Linked DNA regions of Homo sapiens: regions 2, 3, 4 and 5 are each linked to region 1. The links are contacts of gene promoters, found by promoter capture Hi-C in blood cells and fetal thymus (Javierre and others, 2016). All regions are on one chromosome and are shown on one strand. Each heading gives the region's core, a stretch centred on a gene start or on the middle of the fragment in contact. The rest is flanking DNA. Distances are from core to core; before and after follow the strand shown.

Region 1 (2,693 bases), core at 130-2,629:
CCACATACTATGAGAAACACCAGCGCACCGGCAGGGCCTGGGGAGTTCTGAGCTCTCCCGGGCTGTGTGAAGCCGCAGCCAGCCCACTTTTTTCTCAGTATGGCAGTGCCATCTGACCTGGCCCAGCCCATCTTGTTCGGGTCATGGTTCGTCTTCCTGGGCATTCTGATGCATTCCCACTTCATATTTGCACTGGGATTTCAGTTTACTAAGCATTCCACACCCATTACTGCTTTCAATCCCTTCAACAACACTGAGAATAGGTGGGCAGGTATTTTTATCTCTATGTGAATAATAACACATGGGGACTCAGAAAAATTAAAGGCCCCAGGAGAGAAGGCTAGTGAGGGGCAGTGACGCTTAGGGACAAACAACTGGTTCTCCTGCCTCCTGCCTGAGGACTCCTGCCTGAGGAGAATATAGTAACAAAAGCCTCTGTCTTGCAATTGCAGCCATTAACACATCTCTTTCATACCCACTACTCACTGGACTGTTAACTCCTTGAAGACAGAAACTCTGTGTGTGTGTGTGTGTGTGTGTGTGTGTGTATTTAATGGGAGCAGTACTTTCTTGAGGCATAATTACATGAAAATACACTAATGATGCATTTGATATATATATAGCCATCACCCAAGATAAAGATATGGAACATTTCCACCACCCCTGAAGGTTTCCTCGTGCCCCTTTTCAATCCATCCTTCTACCCCAGAGGCAAACAGTGCCCTAATTTCTATCACCTGTGATGCGTTTTGCCTGTTCTTGGACTTCATCTGTATGGAGTCATAGTTTGCACAGAGACTGAATCCCCAGAGCACGACACAGCCTGGCACATGGCAGGTATACAATGCCAAAGAAAGCCTGGTTCTTAAACTACCTGTGAGAGAGAGTTCGTCCCACCGGGAAACTGAGGCGGTGGGCGGTTAGTGACCTGCCAAAGGCACGAGTGTATGATGTGGTGGATCCCGGACTCCAGCCAGCCTAATTCCGAACCCAAGGCCTCCTCCGGGCCCCCAGCCCTCCCTGGGCACTTCCTCCAGGGCTCCGGGTGGAGCGGGTCTGACGATCCCGGACGAACAGCGCCCCCTGCTGCCGGCCCAGGCCCCAGGCCCTCCTCTCCTTTGGGGGGGGATGTGACAGGATGACACAGGCCTTGCGCCCAGCGCAGTGACGGGCACAGGGCAGGGACTTGTGGGATAAAAGTCACCTGCCCTTTTATTTTCCTCGGAAAAGAGCTTTTCCTAAACTTTGGGGGCTTTCTATCTCCAGAATTAACAGACAAAGGGAGAAGAGGTCTTTTTGGTGGAGCGCTGCTGCCCCCATGCGGGTGGATGGCGACACTACCGAAGAGCAGGCGATCAAGCCTGGTATTTTTGGGTTTCAGGTTCTGCGGCTCCCTGAGACCAGCAGATTCCTGGTCTCCGGGTCCCTGGGTCCCGGACGTGTCCATCAAGGCGTCCATTAGGGCCATCACCTAATGGACAAGCATCAGGGTAAGGGGGGAGGTGCTATTGGGGGGGGGTCCCTCAGAGAATCAGCCCTAGCTCTGTGTGGGGGCAAATACGGCCTCCCCACCTCCTTCCCTCCCAGGAGACACTGGCCTGAGCATAAGTCTCGAGGGTCTGCCCTGTACTAAGCAAGCGCTTAATCAGGTGAGATCAAGGTCTGATCTTGGCTGGTTTGGAGGGGCAGCAGAGGTGCGGTGAGGGAGGCGGCTCAGCGGTGGGGCCAGCAGCACCTCCCCAGCCTGCTTGCGGGCCCGGTGCAAGTCACCGAGGGGCCGGCAGCCCCTCCCAGCCTGGCATGTTGGCCTTGCTGCACCTGCGGTTGGGGGGTGGTGTAACGGCCCAGCCTGCTCCCCTCGGCACGTGGCCTGGGGCGATGCTATCTCTAACTCAGTATTTTAAACTCTTCTTTCCAGAGGATGTGGCTTCTGCGGGAGAGCTTCAAAGGGTGCCCTACTTGCCCCTCTTGGTAACCATGACGTCATGGAAATGGGAGGGGACCGCCCCAGCCCCCAAACACCTGGAGGGAAGTGGGAGACTTTTTCCACTTCCTGTTCTACTTGTGGCTACTGACTCAATGTCTGACCTGTTTATTAATTGCAAAATATAGCTCTATGTGTGCTACCCAGAGAGGCCTCAGGCCTGTGTGTCTCTGTGTGAAAGGAGGCCTGCACTCCCCACCCCTCGCCGCGTTGCCCAGGTGGCCTTGACACAGACGCAGGGCGCTGGTGGTCCTGCAGCCTTCCGGCAGCCAGAATGACAGCACTGGGTCTCCATGTGCTTGCTCCCCCAGACTCATCCCAGTCAGAAGCTCGTCTTCCCACACATGGCTCACGGAGGTAGATGGGTTTTAGAGTAGGACTCATGGAGAAACTGAGGCGAACCCACATAAAGTGACTGTTGGCTCTGGACCTCAGTGTGGTCACACAGTGAGGTCAGACTCCCAGGTACCCTGCGTGATTTACCACAGTCCCTGTCCTCCAGGCTTTGTTGGATAGATGTGTGCCTGCCTGGGGGCTGCCCTGAGCAAGGGGCCACCACTCAGGCTTTCCTTGTTCTGAAGTTCTTGACAAGTTACTTTAGCTCTTGGCAAAACTGTGAAGCATTGACTCACCTGACCACTTCCTCTACTAATCCCCACTTTCCTTTCTCCTGTACTCCCCACTCCTCACACTCAGCTCCCCCCACCCA
Region 2 (2,693 bases), core at 112-2,611, 120 kb after region 1:
ACCACTCTCCACTTTTTTCTTAGAATATGAGCTTCTCCAGGTTTATTAGCCAAGCTGTATAGTTAGATCTGACTGCGGGTGTCAGGGTGATGGTGTAAATACTGCTGAACAAGGAGATCCTTCCTCCATATGTGATGGAGACCAAATGTCTTTGGGTGTGGAAGACAAAGAGTCATGGCAGAATTATCCTAACGCTTCCTGGCAAGCAATTTATCCAGAGAGAGTCATAGTAGGAAGAAAGCTTTTCCATTGTTTTTCCATTAAAATAGAGGTTAGTAAATCTTGGTACAAAATTGTCTCCCCTCTACACAGTCAATTGGCATTGATAGCTGAGTTAATTACTGTATCTAGGAGACAGTCTCAATTTTTATCATTGAATTCTGTGTATGCAGAAGCAATGCACAGGAACTGGGGAAATATATTCAAATGGAAATATAGAGTGATTTAAGACTTGCTTTATACATAGTCTTTGGCATCTTTGTGTTGGAGAGGGGAAGGTTTTCATCTGGAGTCACATTCACTTATGCCACTTTGGGCCTCCACACTAACACAAGAGTGTGTTGGCTTGTACTTGGTTACTTCTGAGTAGATGAGGCTTGCCATAAACCCACTGGAGAATGAGGTATGATATTAGGAAGACAAAAGTAGACTACAGAGTTGGAGTCGTCTAAGGTGACAGTGCTTTTTCTTCCATTGAAGGTGTATGATCTGGATATCTCCCATTTATAGTCCACAGAACTGCTACATTGGAGTCTTTACCCAGGAGCCTCAGAGGACTCAAATATCCTGAAGAATCTAAGATTCAGTTCTGAGCCTTTACAGGAGCAATATGTTGATAGCTCAACCTTTTCCAATAACAAGTCACAGTGATGAAGTAGCTGGACCTGGATTTACGCAGGAACTCCTTAGTCTTTTGGAGCCAGACACTTTTAAGGGTCATAACATCAGTGGAGTTCAGGCTCAGTCTCAAAATGCTGCTCTGAGAAAAATGCTCACAAACGTCGCAAGGTGGTGCTAAATTTCAGACACACATGAGTTTGGGGTGGGACAGAGAAGCAAGCAACAGCAACAACAAAAAAACCCTCCAAAACAGAGTAAGGAGACCCGTTTTACATCACTTTCCTATTGAGATATAAATGGTCTTAGAATGATCATTGTTGGAGGTGTAAGGCTCAGGGTGGGAGAGAGTGGGAGGAGAACTAAGAGGTGGGAAATTTGAAGAGAATCAATACTCTGAGTAGATATCAAAGTATGATTTTAAAAAATATAGGCTCAAGGATTAAGAACAGACTGAGATATTTATAAATAAATGCTGCAGAAAACACCAAGTGAATGACTGGGTATGGAACAATAATATTGAGATCTTTTTTTTTTTTTTTTGAGACTGAGCCTCACTTAGTTGTCCAGGCTGGTCTTGAACCCCTGGCTCAAGCAATCCTCCCACCTCAGCCTTCTGAGTAGATTGAGAGTGTCTTTTGCTGATGTCCTGTTCCAAGGCAGTGCAGGCTTGAGCTCTTTGCTCCTGACAGCTGCCTGGGATAACAGAGAAATGAAGGAGGAAATCTCTTTATAAAGGTTTCTAAAGAAATTAAAAAAATTAACTTGTACATTGACTTTGTAATGGAAGTGAGAACATACAGGAAAGCCCTTTGGGGAGTTAGCTTTAGAAGGGAAATACCGGGAAATACAAGTAAGACAAGGCACTTACAGAAAAAGTAGAAATTTCATGTTTAATAAATGGTCAAATTTAACATAGCTCTGAATATATAATTTTCCATTAGAATATTGGTAACAACATTGCAGTAAACTTGAGTCTGGGTACCCCGCACTGAGTAAAAATGGTAGATTCTATTTTGTGTGAGTTCAGTCAAAGAGACATGGGGGACAATTAGTCCGGTCTCTGCTTCTGTTGTTTAGCAGAGCCTCCAGCCCGGAAGCACACTGAGATGTCTTGTGTTTTTCAGATCTTTAATTTTTGAATGCTGTACTGTACCCAAGGACCTCGCTTTTTTTCACTGTGCATATGCATGATGTGGGACATCCCATATTGGAGACACAGATGACTTATTGAAAGCCCTGCCTAAGACTTAATTAATATCAGCATTTCAAGTAGCTTGCAAGATTGGATTCTGTGGCTATATACTATAGGAATATAGACTTCCTGGTCTTTTTCTTACTGCCTCCAAATATAACCAGATAATCCTCTGTCTGGTTTCTTGGGAGCCACTTGTATCTTACTTTCTTGCAGGAACATTCTAAAGGGTTCCTTCAGAAAACTTGGGAAAGTGTAAGACTAAAGACAAACCACAGCCTGAAGCCTAGGCTGCTGACTTGAGCACAGATGGGAGAATGTTAACAGCCAAGAAATATGAGGTCTTTGGCTCTTTTCCCAGAACTGCCAGGCTAAGACCTTGGCAGAGACTCAACAGGAAACTGAACTCTATTTGCATATCCTTTTATACATGGGAGATTAAAAGCTTCAACCTTGAGTGATCACAGTTTTTGAGAATCATGATGAGGCATTAAAGAAGAGGAGGAGTGTCTCAAGGGAGGTGAGCTGGAGGTGATGCAAGGTAGGTGTGAGGTTAGCCACGACTTTCAATCCCCTTTGATTAATCAAGAGTGTATTTCGTTTAGTTCCTTTTTTCGATTTTATCCTTACTGGGTCACATAAAGGAATCAGCTGCAGGAAT
Region 3 (2,693 bases), core at 61-2,560, 93 kb after region 1:
GTGGTTTGGCTAGCAGCCATTTTAACAAGGCTATGACAGGTCAACTTGAATCACAAAGAAGTCAGAAGCCAAGGAGATGCATTTTTGTAAGCCTTTGGTTTCTTCAGGAGTGTAGCTTCCTCATGCCAGTCAGCCTGCAGTGAAGAAAGTTGTTATAGAATAGACTGCCAGTGCTAGAAGGAATCGTAGGGGTCATGTAGTCTGGGGTTGGCCGGTACTTGCTATACTGTACCATTGCAGACATCACTAATCTATTGTGGCTCACTTTCCATGTACACATGGCAATAGCTCAGCTAGTTCAGCTATCAGTGTTGGCACAAGTCATGAGACTCTTTTGTTCTCCTTTGGTTATTATTTTTTTTAACTCATTTGTTTTGCAGATGCAAAAACCCAGGCCCAGAGAGATGAAGAAACCTGGCTAAGGTAACATGTAAGTTAGTGTCAAAATCAGGATAAAACCCAGATCTTCTGACTCTTAGTATAGCTCTCTTTTTACCCAGCCACACTGCCTGTGTCCCTGGGACTGTTAGTAAAATAACAGGTGAGCTGGACCCCCTTTTTGAGATGACTGGGTATGTTTACTGTCTGGGTCAGATCAGTCAAGTACTCTGAGTCTAGGGTTGTTCCTAGAACAGAAGCTGGGGTTGATGAGCATTTGTGAGTATTGGAGAAGGAGTGAGGGGGAGAAGCCTCACACGCAAACCCAGGCCCTGGTTTCAATTTCGTGTATGAGATTACCTGAGAACGGAATGCAAGTAACAGGCAAATAATTGACATCTCAAACCTAACTGTGTATGCATCCTGAGTAGCTAATAGTGAGCTGTTCACTACTAATGCTGTGTGTAGGTTCATCCCAAAGACAGGCTGATCCACACATAGACAGGCTGGTCCTATGATTAAGGAGTGTGAGCTGGCATTCCCTTTATCAGGACAAAGATAGGTTCTGCTTCCTCTGGATAGTCTTCAGGCAAAGCTTTACTTATGGCCTTGCAAATAACCCATGGTCTCTTGGTCGATGAACAAAATAGCAGTAAAGAAGATGAATTCTCCTTATTTATCTTCAGTTTTCTCCCTGGAGTGAAAGTGAGGGTTATTCTCTGGTATATTAGAAAAATAGTACATTATACTACCTAATGGGTTTCAGTCTGACTCAAAATGAAAGGATAACAGGAAATGGGGTGCTGTTTTGCTGAGTAGCTGAGATAGCCTACCTTATTAATTCTAAGTATGTCTCTATTTTCCCTTTCCAATGCTTCTTGGTTTCTTAGCCATTTCTAAATCCCCTTTCCCCATGTGCAGCATGGTGTGGGTAGAGATAGGAATAAGAAGCGGCTAATTCTTACCTTACAAGAAAAATAACTTGGCAGTCAAGAGAAAATTGACGGCAACAGTCTTTGCAAACAGCATTCGTAGCCCAAGCACTGTGAGGGACATCATGTTCACCTTCTCGGTATGAACTATGGCTGAAAAAGAGTGAAGAGGGTGGCTTCAGGGAGAGATTAAATTCCCTTCCAGAAATTGGGCCTGCAACACTGATATTAGCCTGCCCCAAGTCTGCCTAGTTCTTTCTGGCCTGCAAGTCCAGCATGGTGCCAGATAGCCGTCAGAGACCTTAGGCTGCTGCTGACACCCAGCCAGGCAAGCTTGGGAAACCGATGCCGACAGCCAGGTAAGCCTTGCTGGGAGAGTCAGAGGCTCTGCAGAACCAACTGGGCTCAGCATGGTTTGTGTTTTCTTTTGAAATCTGATACATTTTGGCCCCAGTGGACAATTACAGAGTTTGCTTTAACCCTTGATTCTGAAGTTGGCCCTTTGATTTGAACTAACCTTTGGGTTTATGGCAGCTCTTTGAAGGTTGCTTTGTGTTTTCAGTTTCCTTTGGTTTTACGTGATCTGGAACAAACAGCAGTGGTCAGGGTTACATTGGGAATGAAGAGGCTCACAGGATTGTAGGCTTTTAAAACTGGAGGAGACTTTGGGTGAGTGAACTGAGGACCAGAGGATGTGACTTGGTGAAGGTCACATAGCTAATTATACAACATGCTTCCCATTCTAGCCTTTTTCATTGTACCATGAGGTCAACATCCAGGCACACCAATATGCGGGAAGAACTAGGATTCTTAGCCCCACAATAGGCCGCATTGCCCTTTGTTGGAATTTAGCACTGGATTAGAATGCACGAGGACTTTCAATCCCAGAGTCTAGTATGAAGGGGACAGTGGTAGGTAAAGAGGAGAGATGAGGAAGAAATAAGATGGGCTTTATTTTAGATTCCATCTTAGGGATGACAAGCATTTCCCTCCCCTGCCAATGGCAGGCTATAGTTGGGCCTAAGTCTTATTTCCAGCATGATGCTATACTGAGAATGATTTGTCCACAGTTACATCTCTAACTTCCCTTTCACCCAATTCTTGTTCCCCATAATCTCCAGCTCCTTGAAGCTAGAAATGGCCTACCTGTAGAATCTGTCTTCACTTCAAAGTCAGTGGAGTGCACAGTTTTATTGTCGTGTTGAACTGAACATGTCACTGAATTTGAATCTTCATATTTACCAAGCTTGACAGCATTGTACTTCCCACTGGGAGAGATGACAATAGCAGGATCAAACTCTGTTATCTTCTTGGATGACACGAGATTTATTCTTATATCCTTGGGGTAGAATTCCTTCACCAGACAAGCGACATTTGTTCCAT
Region 4 (2,693 bases), core at 96-2,595, 96 kb before region 1:
CTTCTAAACTCCTTTGCATCTTACTGTTCATAACATTCACAACATTTGGCCATGAATTGTTTTGATACAATTTAAGAAACTAACTCCAAAGTCTGATTTCTTTGGTCTACAAAAGCCACCCTTTCCTTTAGTGCTTACAATTACTAGTCTAAGCCCTTGTCGTGATCAGCCACTGCAACTTTAGCAGTTTTCTGGTTCCCCTCACATGTAACCATCAGCGAAGGCTTACATTTCCTGCAGATCCCTGCTGCTTCTGGGGATCTGCTGGTCACTTCTGGCTACCTTGTGATGAGTTTCTCCAACTGCTCCTGTTTTCCCCGCCCCTCCTCATACCAAGTGCGGACCCACCAAAACCAAGATGGCAATGAGAGTGACCTCTGATCATCCTGACTACTACACTCTTACCAATGCCATGACATTATCTGCCGAGTATGTCAGGCCCATTGTAACCCCTGTTTCATTGAAAGCTTTGGAATAACAGGAGGGGATTGTGTAGGAAAGAGGGAAAAAATCCAATGAGATATAGGAGATTATTGTTCTTAAAGTCCACCAGCCATTCATCTGGATAGGGTATTTTGTTTTTTCTCTCCCACTGCTCATCTCTCTTTCTGCTGCCACATTATCATGAGACTTATCTTCTGTCGTGGAGTGTCTTTGCTCATGTCTGTCACTGGTCCATTTGCTATGACTCCCCTGCCAGGTGCTGGACCCTGATCAGGAGGCCCAGTGAGAAGGGAAAACCCCATGGTGGCCCCAGACTCACCTCTCAAGACACATCCTAACCTGTAGAGAGGGATCTCTTCCCACAGTGCAGGCCATCTCAGCGTCATGAAGGTGAGCTGTGTAGCTCAGCACGGTCTTAAGCTACTGAGAATATGATTTTGGCTTTACTGCCATAAAGCCATTGAAGTGTTTTTCAAAAACAAACAAACAAATAAACAAACAAAGTCTCCTCCAAAAGTGGAATCAGAAAATTCCTGGTAATTTAAAAAACAACTTTCCCTGGCTTCTTGACATTACATTTTCAAAAATATAGATGCTCAAGCTCATTAAAACAGTCTAGTACATTTTTTCTCCCTTAAATATATTTTATTACATCTTACAAAAATTAGCAGGCTCGTAAAACATCTGGGAAGAGAACGGTAGGGCCATCCAAGGGAAGGCCGGGGACCTGTCTTTGTCTTTGAAGGCTCACAGTCTGGGGCTGGGTGGGTTGTGTTTTGAGGCGTCATTAACAAAAATGTTCTCAAGAGTGACATGTTATTAATTTGGATGAGAAATAAGACCATTAGACCAAAATGCTCTTCCCAGTGTATTCACAAATCAGCCCTCTTTTCCTTAGTCTGAACCTTGCTGAAATCCCTTTGACCCTTTGGAAAAGAAAAGTGTAATATTTCATCTCAGTCAATGGATGTTTAGTCTGGAGAAGTCTTGGGAAGCAAGCAGTACTTTGGCAGGGAAAAAATGTCCCCGAGTCAGTCTGCCTGTCAGGGAATAGGCAGTGGTTTGTCCGCTGGATAAGCCCAAAGTTATCCAAAAGAGAGGGACAGCCACTCCCTGGTTAAATTCCTTCCTGGAATGGAGCTCCCCGGGAACTAGGAGGCAATGTCAACAATGAGGTGTGCTTCCCTCCTCTTCCACCAGGAGTCTGCCACGAGCTGGTGAGGAAGGCACTGTGAACACTGCAAAAGGTTAGAGATGCCCAAGAGGTGCTGTCAGTAAGTGCTGGGGTAGTTGCTAAGAATTTAGAAATGAGGGATATGGATGGTCCCAACTAGGAGGCTCTTAACCTTTTCTGGGTCAAAAAGCCATTTGAGAATTTGACTGTTCTCATCTCCCTCTCAATCTACATAAACACACAATTTTTTGTATAATTTTATTTATTCATTTACTTATTTATTTTGATGGAGTTTTGCTCTTCTTGCCCAGGCTGGAGTGCAATGGTGCGACCTCAGCTCACTGCAACCTCCACCTCCCTGGTTCAAGCGATTCTCCTGCCTCAGCCTCCCGAGTAGCCGGGATTACAGGCGTGTGCCACCAAGCTGGGCTAATTTTGTATTTTTAGTAGACACGCGGTTTCTCCATGTCGGTCAGGCTGGTCTCAAACTCCCGACCTCAGGTGATCCACCCGCCTCGGCCTCCCATTACAGGCATGAGCCACCGTGCCTGGCCTTTTTTGTATAATTGAAGAACAATTCTGAAGCTAGAACACTCTGAAGCTTCTGCTCTAGACTAAAAATGCCTGGAGGGGAAGGACTGGATTTGTTCTCTAATGTGTTCCAGCATGTACCAAAAGTGCCTAAGATATAGGAGGTGTCAATGAATGTTTATTAAGTGATAAGATGCAGACGTGCCTGTCAGCCGCTGCAGAGTCCAGGCTGAGGTGTGCAAATGCCAGCGGCATCAGTGCCTCGAGGTGCTTTGAGGCTGGCAGTACTTGCATCCCTGGCACTATTTTTCTTTTTCTTTTCAATTTTTCAATTTTTTTTTTTTTGAGATGACGTTTCGCTGTTGTTGCCCAGGCTGGAGAACAATGGCACGATCTTGGCTCACTGCAACCTCCGCCTCCCGGGTTCAAGCGATTCTCCTGCATCAGCCTCCTGAGTAGCTGGGATTACAGGCACCCACCACCATGCCTGGCTAATTTTTGTGTTTTTAGTAGAGACGGAGTTTCACCTTGTTGGCCAGGCTGG
Region 5 (2,693 bases), core at 116-2,615, 71 kb after region 1:
TTGGTCCAACCTGCACCCTGCTCATTAGAACCAGACTTCACTTGGAGGCATCTCACACATTCAAGATGATCACAACAACTCAACATTCAGCCTTGTAGTGGCACTGGCATATTCCAAATCCACACCCACCTGGTATGGATTTATGCTGCCACTGAATGGAGCAGATACAGCTGGCAATGTCAGGTGGCCTCCTCCATACACACTGAGCTGGGATTGTGCTGTCTGCCTGACCAACTATGCCTGCACAAGGGCAGCTACTCCAGAAATATAGGGACTTGACTCATCCCTTTGGCATAAGAGGACACTGCCCTTGATAGAGATCCTAGGAAAACAGAGTGTTCTGCAATAGCAGCTGGAGCGATCATGCCCTTCTCTGACACCCACCTCACATCTCAGTCTTATCAAGCTGCAGTGAAAGACATATTCCTGCTTTTCAACTTTGTTTCCCTTTCTGTCTCTTATTCCTTTCATTTATCATTTCTGAGCACCCACGGGGCTTCAGACTCTCTTCAATCCATTTCCATTTGACTCTCTTAGAATCCCTACAGGAAACAGCCAAAAGGCCTGAAACGGGGAAGGGAGCAAAAGTACATAAGGAACACTGTGAGTTTAGGTCTTTCCAGCTTGCTTGGCTTCACAGTTAGTCATGTCTCCTTTCCAAATATCAGCTTCTCATAGCTGTCACGCATCTCCCTGCTTCAGGGAGTTTTACAACGACTGACAGAAGGAACTTTATGAATCTTAAAAAACAGTCAAGTTTCTGTCTCTTCCCAGCGGGGTGCAGCGGCAAACACACCAAAGCCAAATCTTTCTATCTGCTCTAATTATCAGCCAGGATACAAGTCACCACAAGGAGAAAGGTATTAAGCCGTGTATCTGAAACTCTTTGGAATTAATTGTAATCCCTTGCCTGGTGGTTTCAGTGACAGGGAATGGACACAGTGGATGTTTATTTCTGTCTATCCTTTCTCTCCCCGCCTCTCTCTCTGTAGTTTTGCATCTATAGAAGCAAAAGGAGATGACAGACAGGAAACAGAGAGGGATTTGAAATAAGACCTCAGATTCCCATTCAGGTTTCATTTTTTCCCTCTCCACTTTCATTTAAAACCCATTCTGAACCAAATACCACATACCTATTCAAACTCCGCTCTCAATTTTCCTCTTTATTGTGGATGATGCTGGTGGAAACGGCCTCGGCTATACCAAGAATAATTTAAGATTGAGGTAAGGAAGGACTTCTGACAGGGAATGCTACTAAACATTAGAACAGGTTACTCAGGGGAGTCATTTGGAAAGGATGACCTCCCCCTCAAAAAAGTTAGGGCATCACCTCCAGAGAAGACACTGAAAGCAGGAAAGATTCTGACTTTCCAGGGTCAAGGTCAGCTGTACACGCAGCAGGGAGACAGACCTAACAACTCAGGGTCCAAAAGAAAATCTGTGAATATTGAGGTTAAAGAAGAGAAAGGACCTCAGAGGACACCACTTAACTTTAAGCAATATCTGGTTCTTTAAAACCTGACACTGGGGTGACATTCCAGAATTTCCAGTATACTGCTGTGTCTTGTTACACTTACTTGGATGGACAGTCAAGATGGTCCCTTGTCCAAATGTCAGCTTTCCATAGCTAGTACCACCAGCATTAGCACTGCACTGGAGGCCTTTACAAGAACCCTAGGGGGACTTCTGAAGCTCGCAGACTTCCTCCTCTTTTAATTCTGGGGAGAATAAACTCACCCAAAGGGGCCTGGGTCTGTGAGGCTCAGTTTCATCCCACCAAAGGCTGGAAGACCATTTCCACCTCTGGTCCTGGGACACTGACCTGCTGCGTCCCCCGAGGTCCGGCTTCCTGCCTCCCATCTCTCTCCATTTCCTCTGGTTTTTGTCTTGAGGCTTACTGATTTCTCATGTTCAGCATCTCTCTTTCTAAAGGTCTCATTTCCATTTTACAGCATCATTTTCAGGACAATTTCTCTGATCAGTTTTCAAGACACGTCCTCCCCTCCCCTCGAGGTGTCACACATTTCTGATGACAATGAATTGATTACAAGGAGACAAGAGGAGAGTGTTCAGCTTTTTGGAGAATGACTAGAATTAGATGAGATTTAGACTGTAGCCTCATGAAACAGGATCTCCTGAGCTTCCCTTCATGCCCTAGCATAAGAAATAAAAATGATGGGCACATGTAACTGAGCTTTCACACAACGTAGTTTTTTTGTCAGTCTTGAATTTGGTGAAATGTAAGTAGTAGCTCACAGAAAAAAGTTTTTATCTGTGCCTTCTTACGGTGATTAACTATCCTGGGGATCATTCTGGGCTTAGCAAAGAATGACCTTTGTCCTGGAAAACCCCTGAAACCCAGGAAAACCAGGACATCTGGTTACTCCACAGTCTCACCTGAGGTGTTCTGACCTCACAGAGCAGCCCGGTGACCACAGTGGTAGGGTTAAGTGAGGTCTCTATTAGGGGCAGGCTTTTGCACATTTACTTGGGGTTCCTGTAAATTTCATCCCTTGACCAAATAATGCTTCTGTTGCCAACAGACACAACCACAGGAATCCTGGGAGTCACCCTGGCTGTGTCTGGATGTCACAAAAAATGTGAAGAGCAAAATCCAGGCAGTTTCATGATGTGGTGATGATCAAACCCTGTCCCCCAGGGGTGTGAAAAACAGACACCTCTTTAATAGAATT

The links. Contacts are between HindIII fragments. The CHiCAGO score rates a contact against its expected background, and 5 or more counts as called.
Region 2: a fragment that was not itself captured here is called in contact with the fragment with the promoter of LINC02332 in region 1 in 1 of 17 cell types (total B cells); the score reaches 5.0 in total B cells.
Region 3: a contact is called between a fragment that was not itself captured here and the fragment with the promoter of LINC02332 in region 1, in 1 of 17 cell types (total B cells). The highest score is 5.7, in total B cells.
Region 4: a contact is called between a fragment that was not itself captured here and the fragment with the promoter of LINC02332 in region 1, in 3 of 17 cell types (M0 macrophages, M2 macrophages and M1 macrophages). The highest score is 12.9, in M0 macrophages.
Region 5: a contact is called between a fragment that was not itself captured here and the fragment with the promoter of LINC02332 in region 1, in 1 of 17 cell types (total B cells). The highest score is 6.3, in total B cells.

The regions. Positions count from the first base shown.
Region 1 is chr14:22,555,748-22,558,440 of GRCh38, reverse strand. It overlaps LINC02332 (long intergenic non-protein coding RNA 2332), which reads left to right and starts at 1,379. Exons shown (of 3, transcript NR_146543.1): 1 at 1,379-1,490; 2 at 1,588-1,649; 3 at 1,919-2,130. LOC105370399 (a long non-coding RNA gene) reads right to left here and starts at 1,875. Exons shown (of 2, transcript XR_007064066.1): 1 at 875-1,875. RefSeq lists enhancers at 774-983, 1,844-2,183, 2,234-2,333 and a silencer at 1,684-1,733. The HindIII fragment of the contact is 9,123 bases long and covers 1-2,693 here.
Region 2 is chr14:22,432,546-22,435,238 of GRCh38, reverse strand. All of the region lies in intron 2 of TRD-AS1 (TRD antisense RNA 1), which reads left to right. It also overlaps TRA and TRD. Among named protein-coding and RNA genes, the nearest start is that of TRD-AS1, 49 kb to the left of the region's middle. RefSeq lists an enhancer at 1,839-1,898. The HindIII fragment of the contact is 2,236 bases long and covers 244-2,479 here.
Region 3 is chr14:22,462,974-22,465,666 of GRCh38, reverse strand. The region is part of intron 2 of TRD-AS1 (TRD antisense RNA 1); the gene reads left to right. It also overlaps TRA, TRD and TRDC. Among named protein-coding and RNA genes, the nearest start is that of TRD-AS1, 19 kb to the left of the region's middle. RefSeq lists enhancers at 932-1,151, 1,574-2,693. The HindIII fragment of the contact is 670 bases long and covers 976-1,645 here.
Region 4 is chr14:22,652,171-22,654,863 of GRCh38, reverse strand. No RefSeq gene overlaps it. Among named protein-coding and RNA genes, the nearest start is that of OR6J1, 9.2 kb to the right of the region's middle. The HindIII fragment of the contact is 1,752 bases long and covers 470-2,221 here.
Region 5 is chr14:22,485,181-22,487,873 of GRCh38, reverse strand. It overlaps TRA, TRAJ52 and the pseudogene TRAJ51. Among named protein-coding and RNA genes, the nearest start is that of TRD-AS1, 3.6 kb to the right of the region's middle. The HindIII fragment of the contact is 4,249 bases long and covers 1-2,693 here.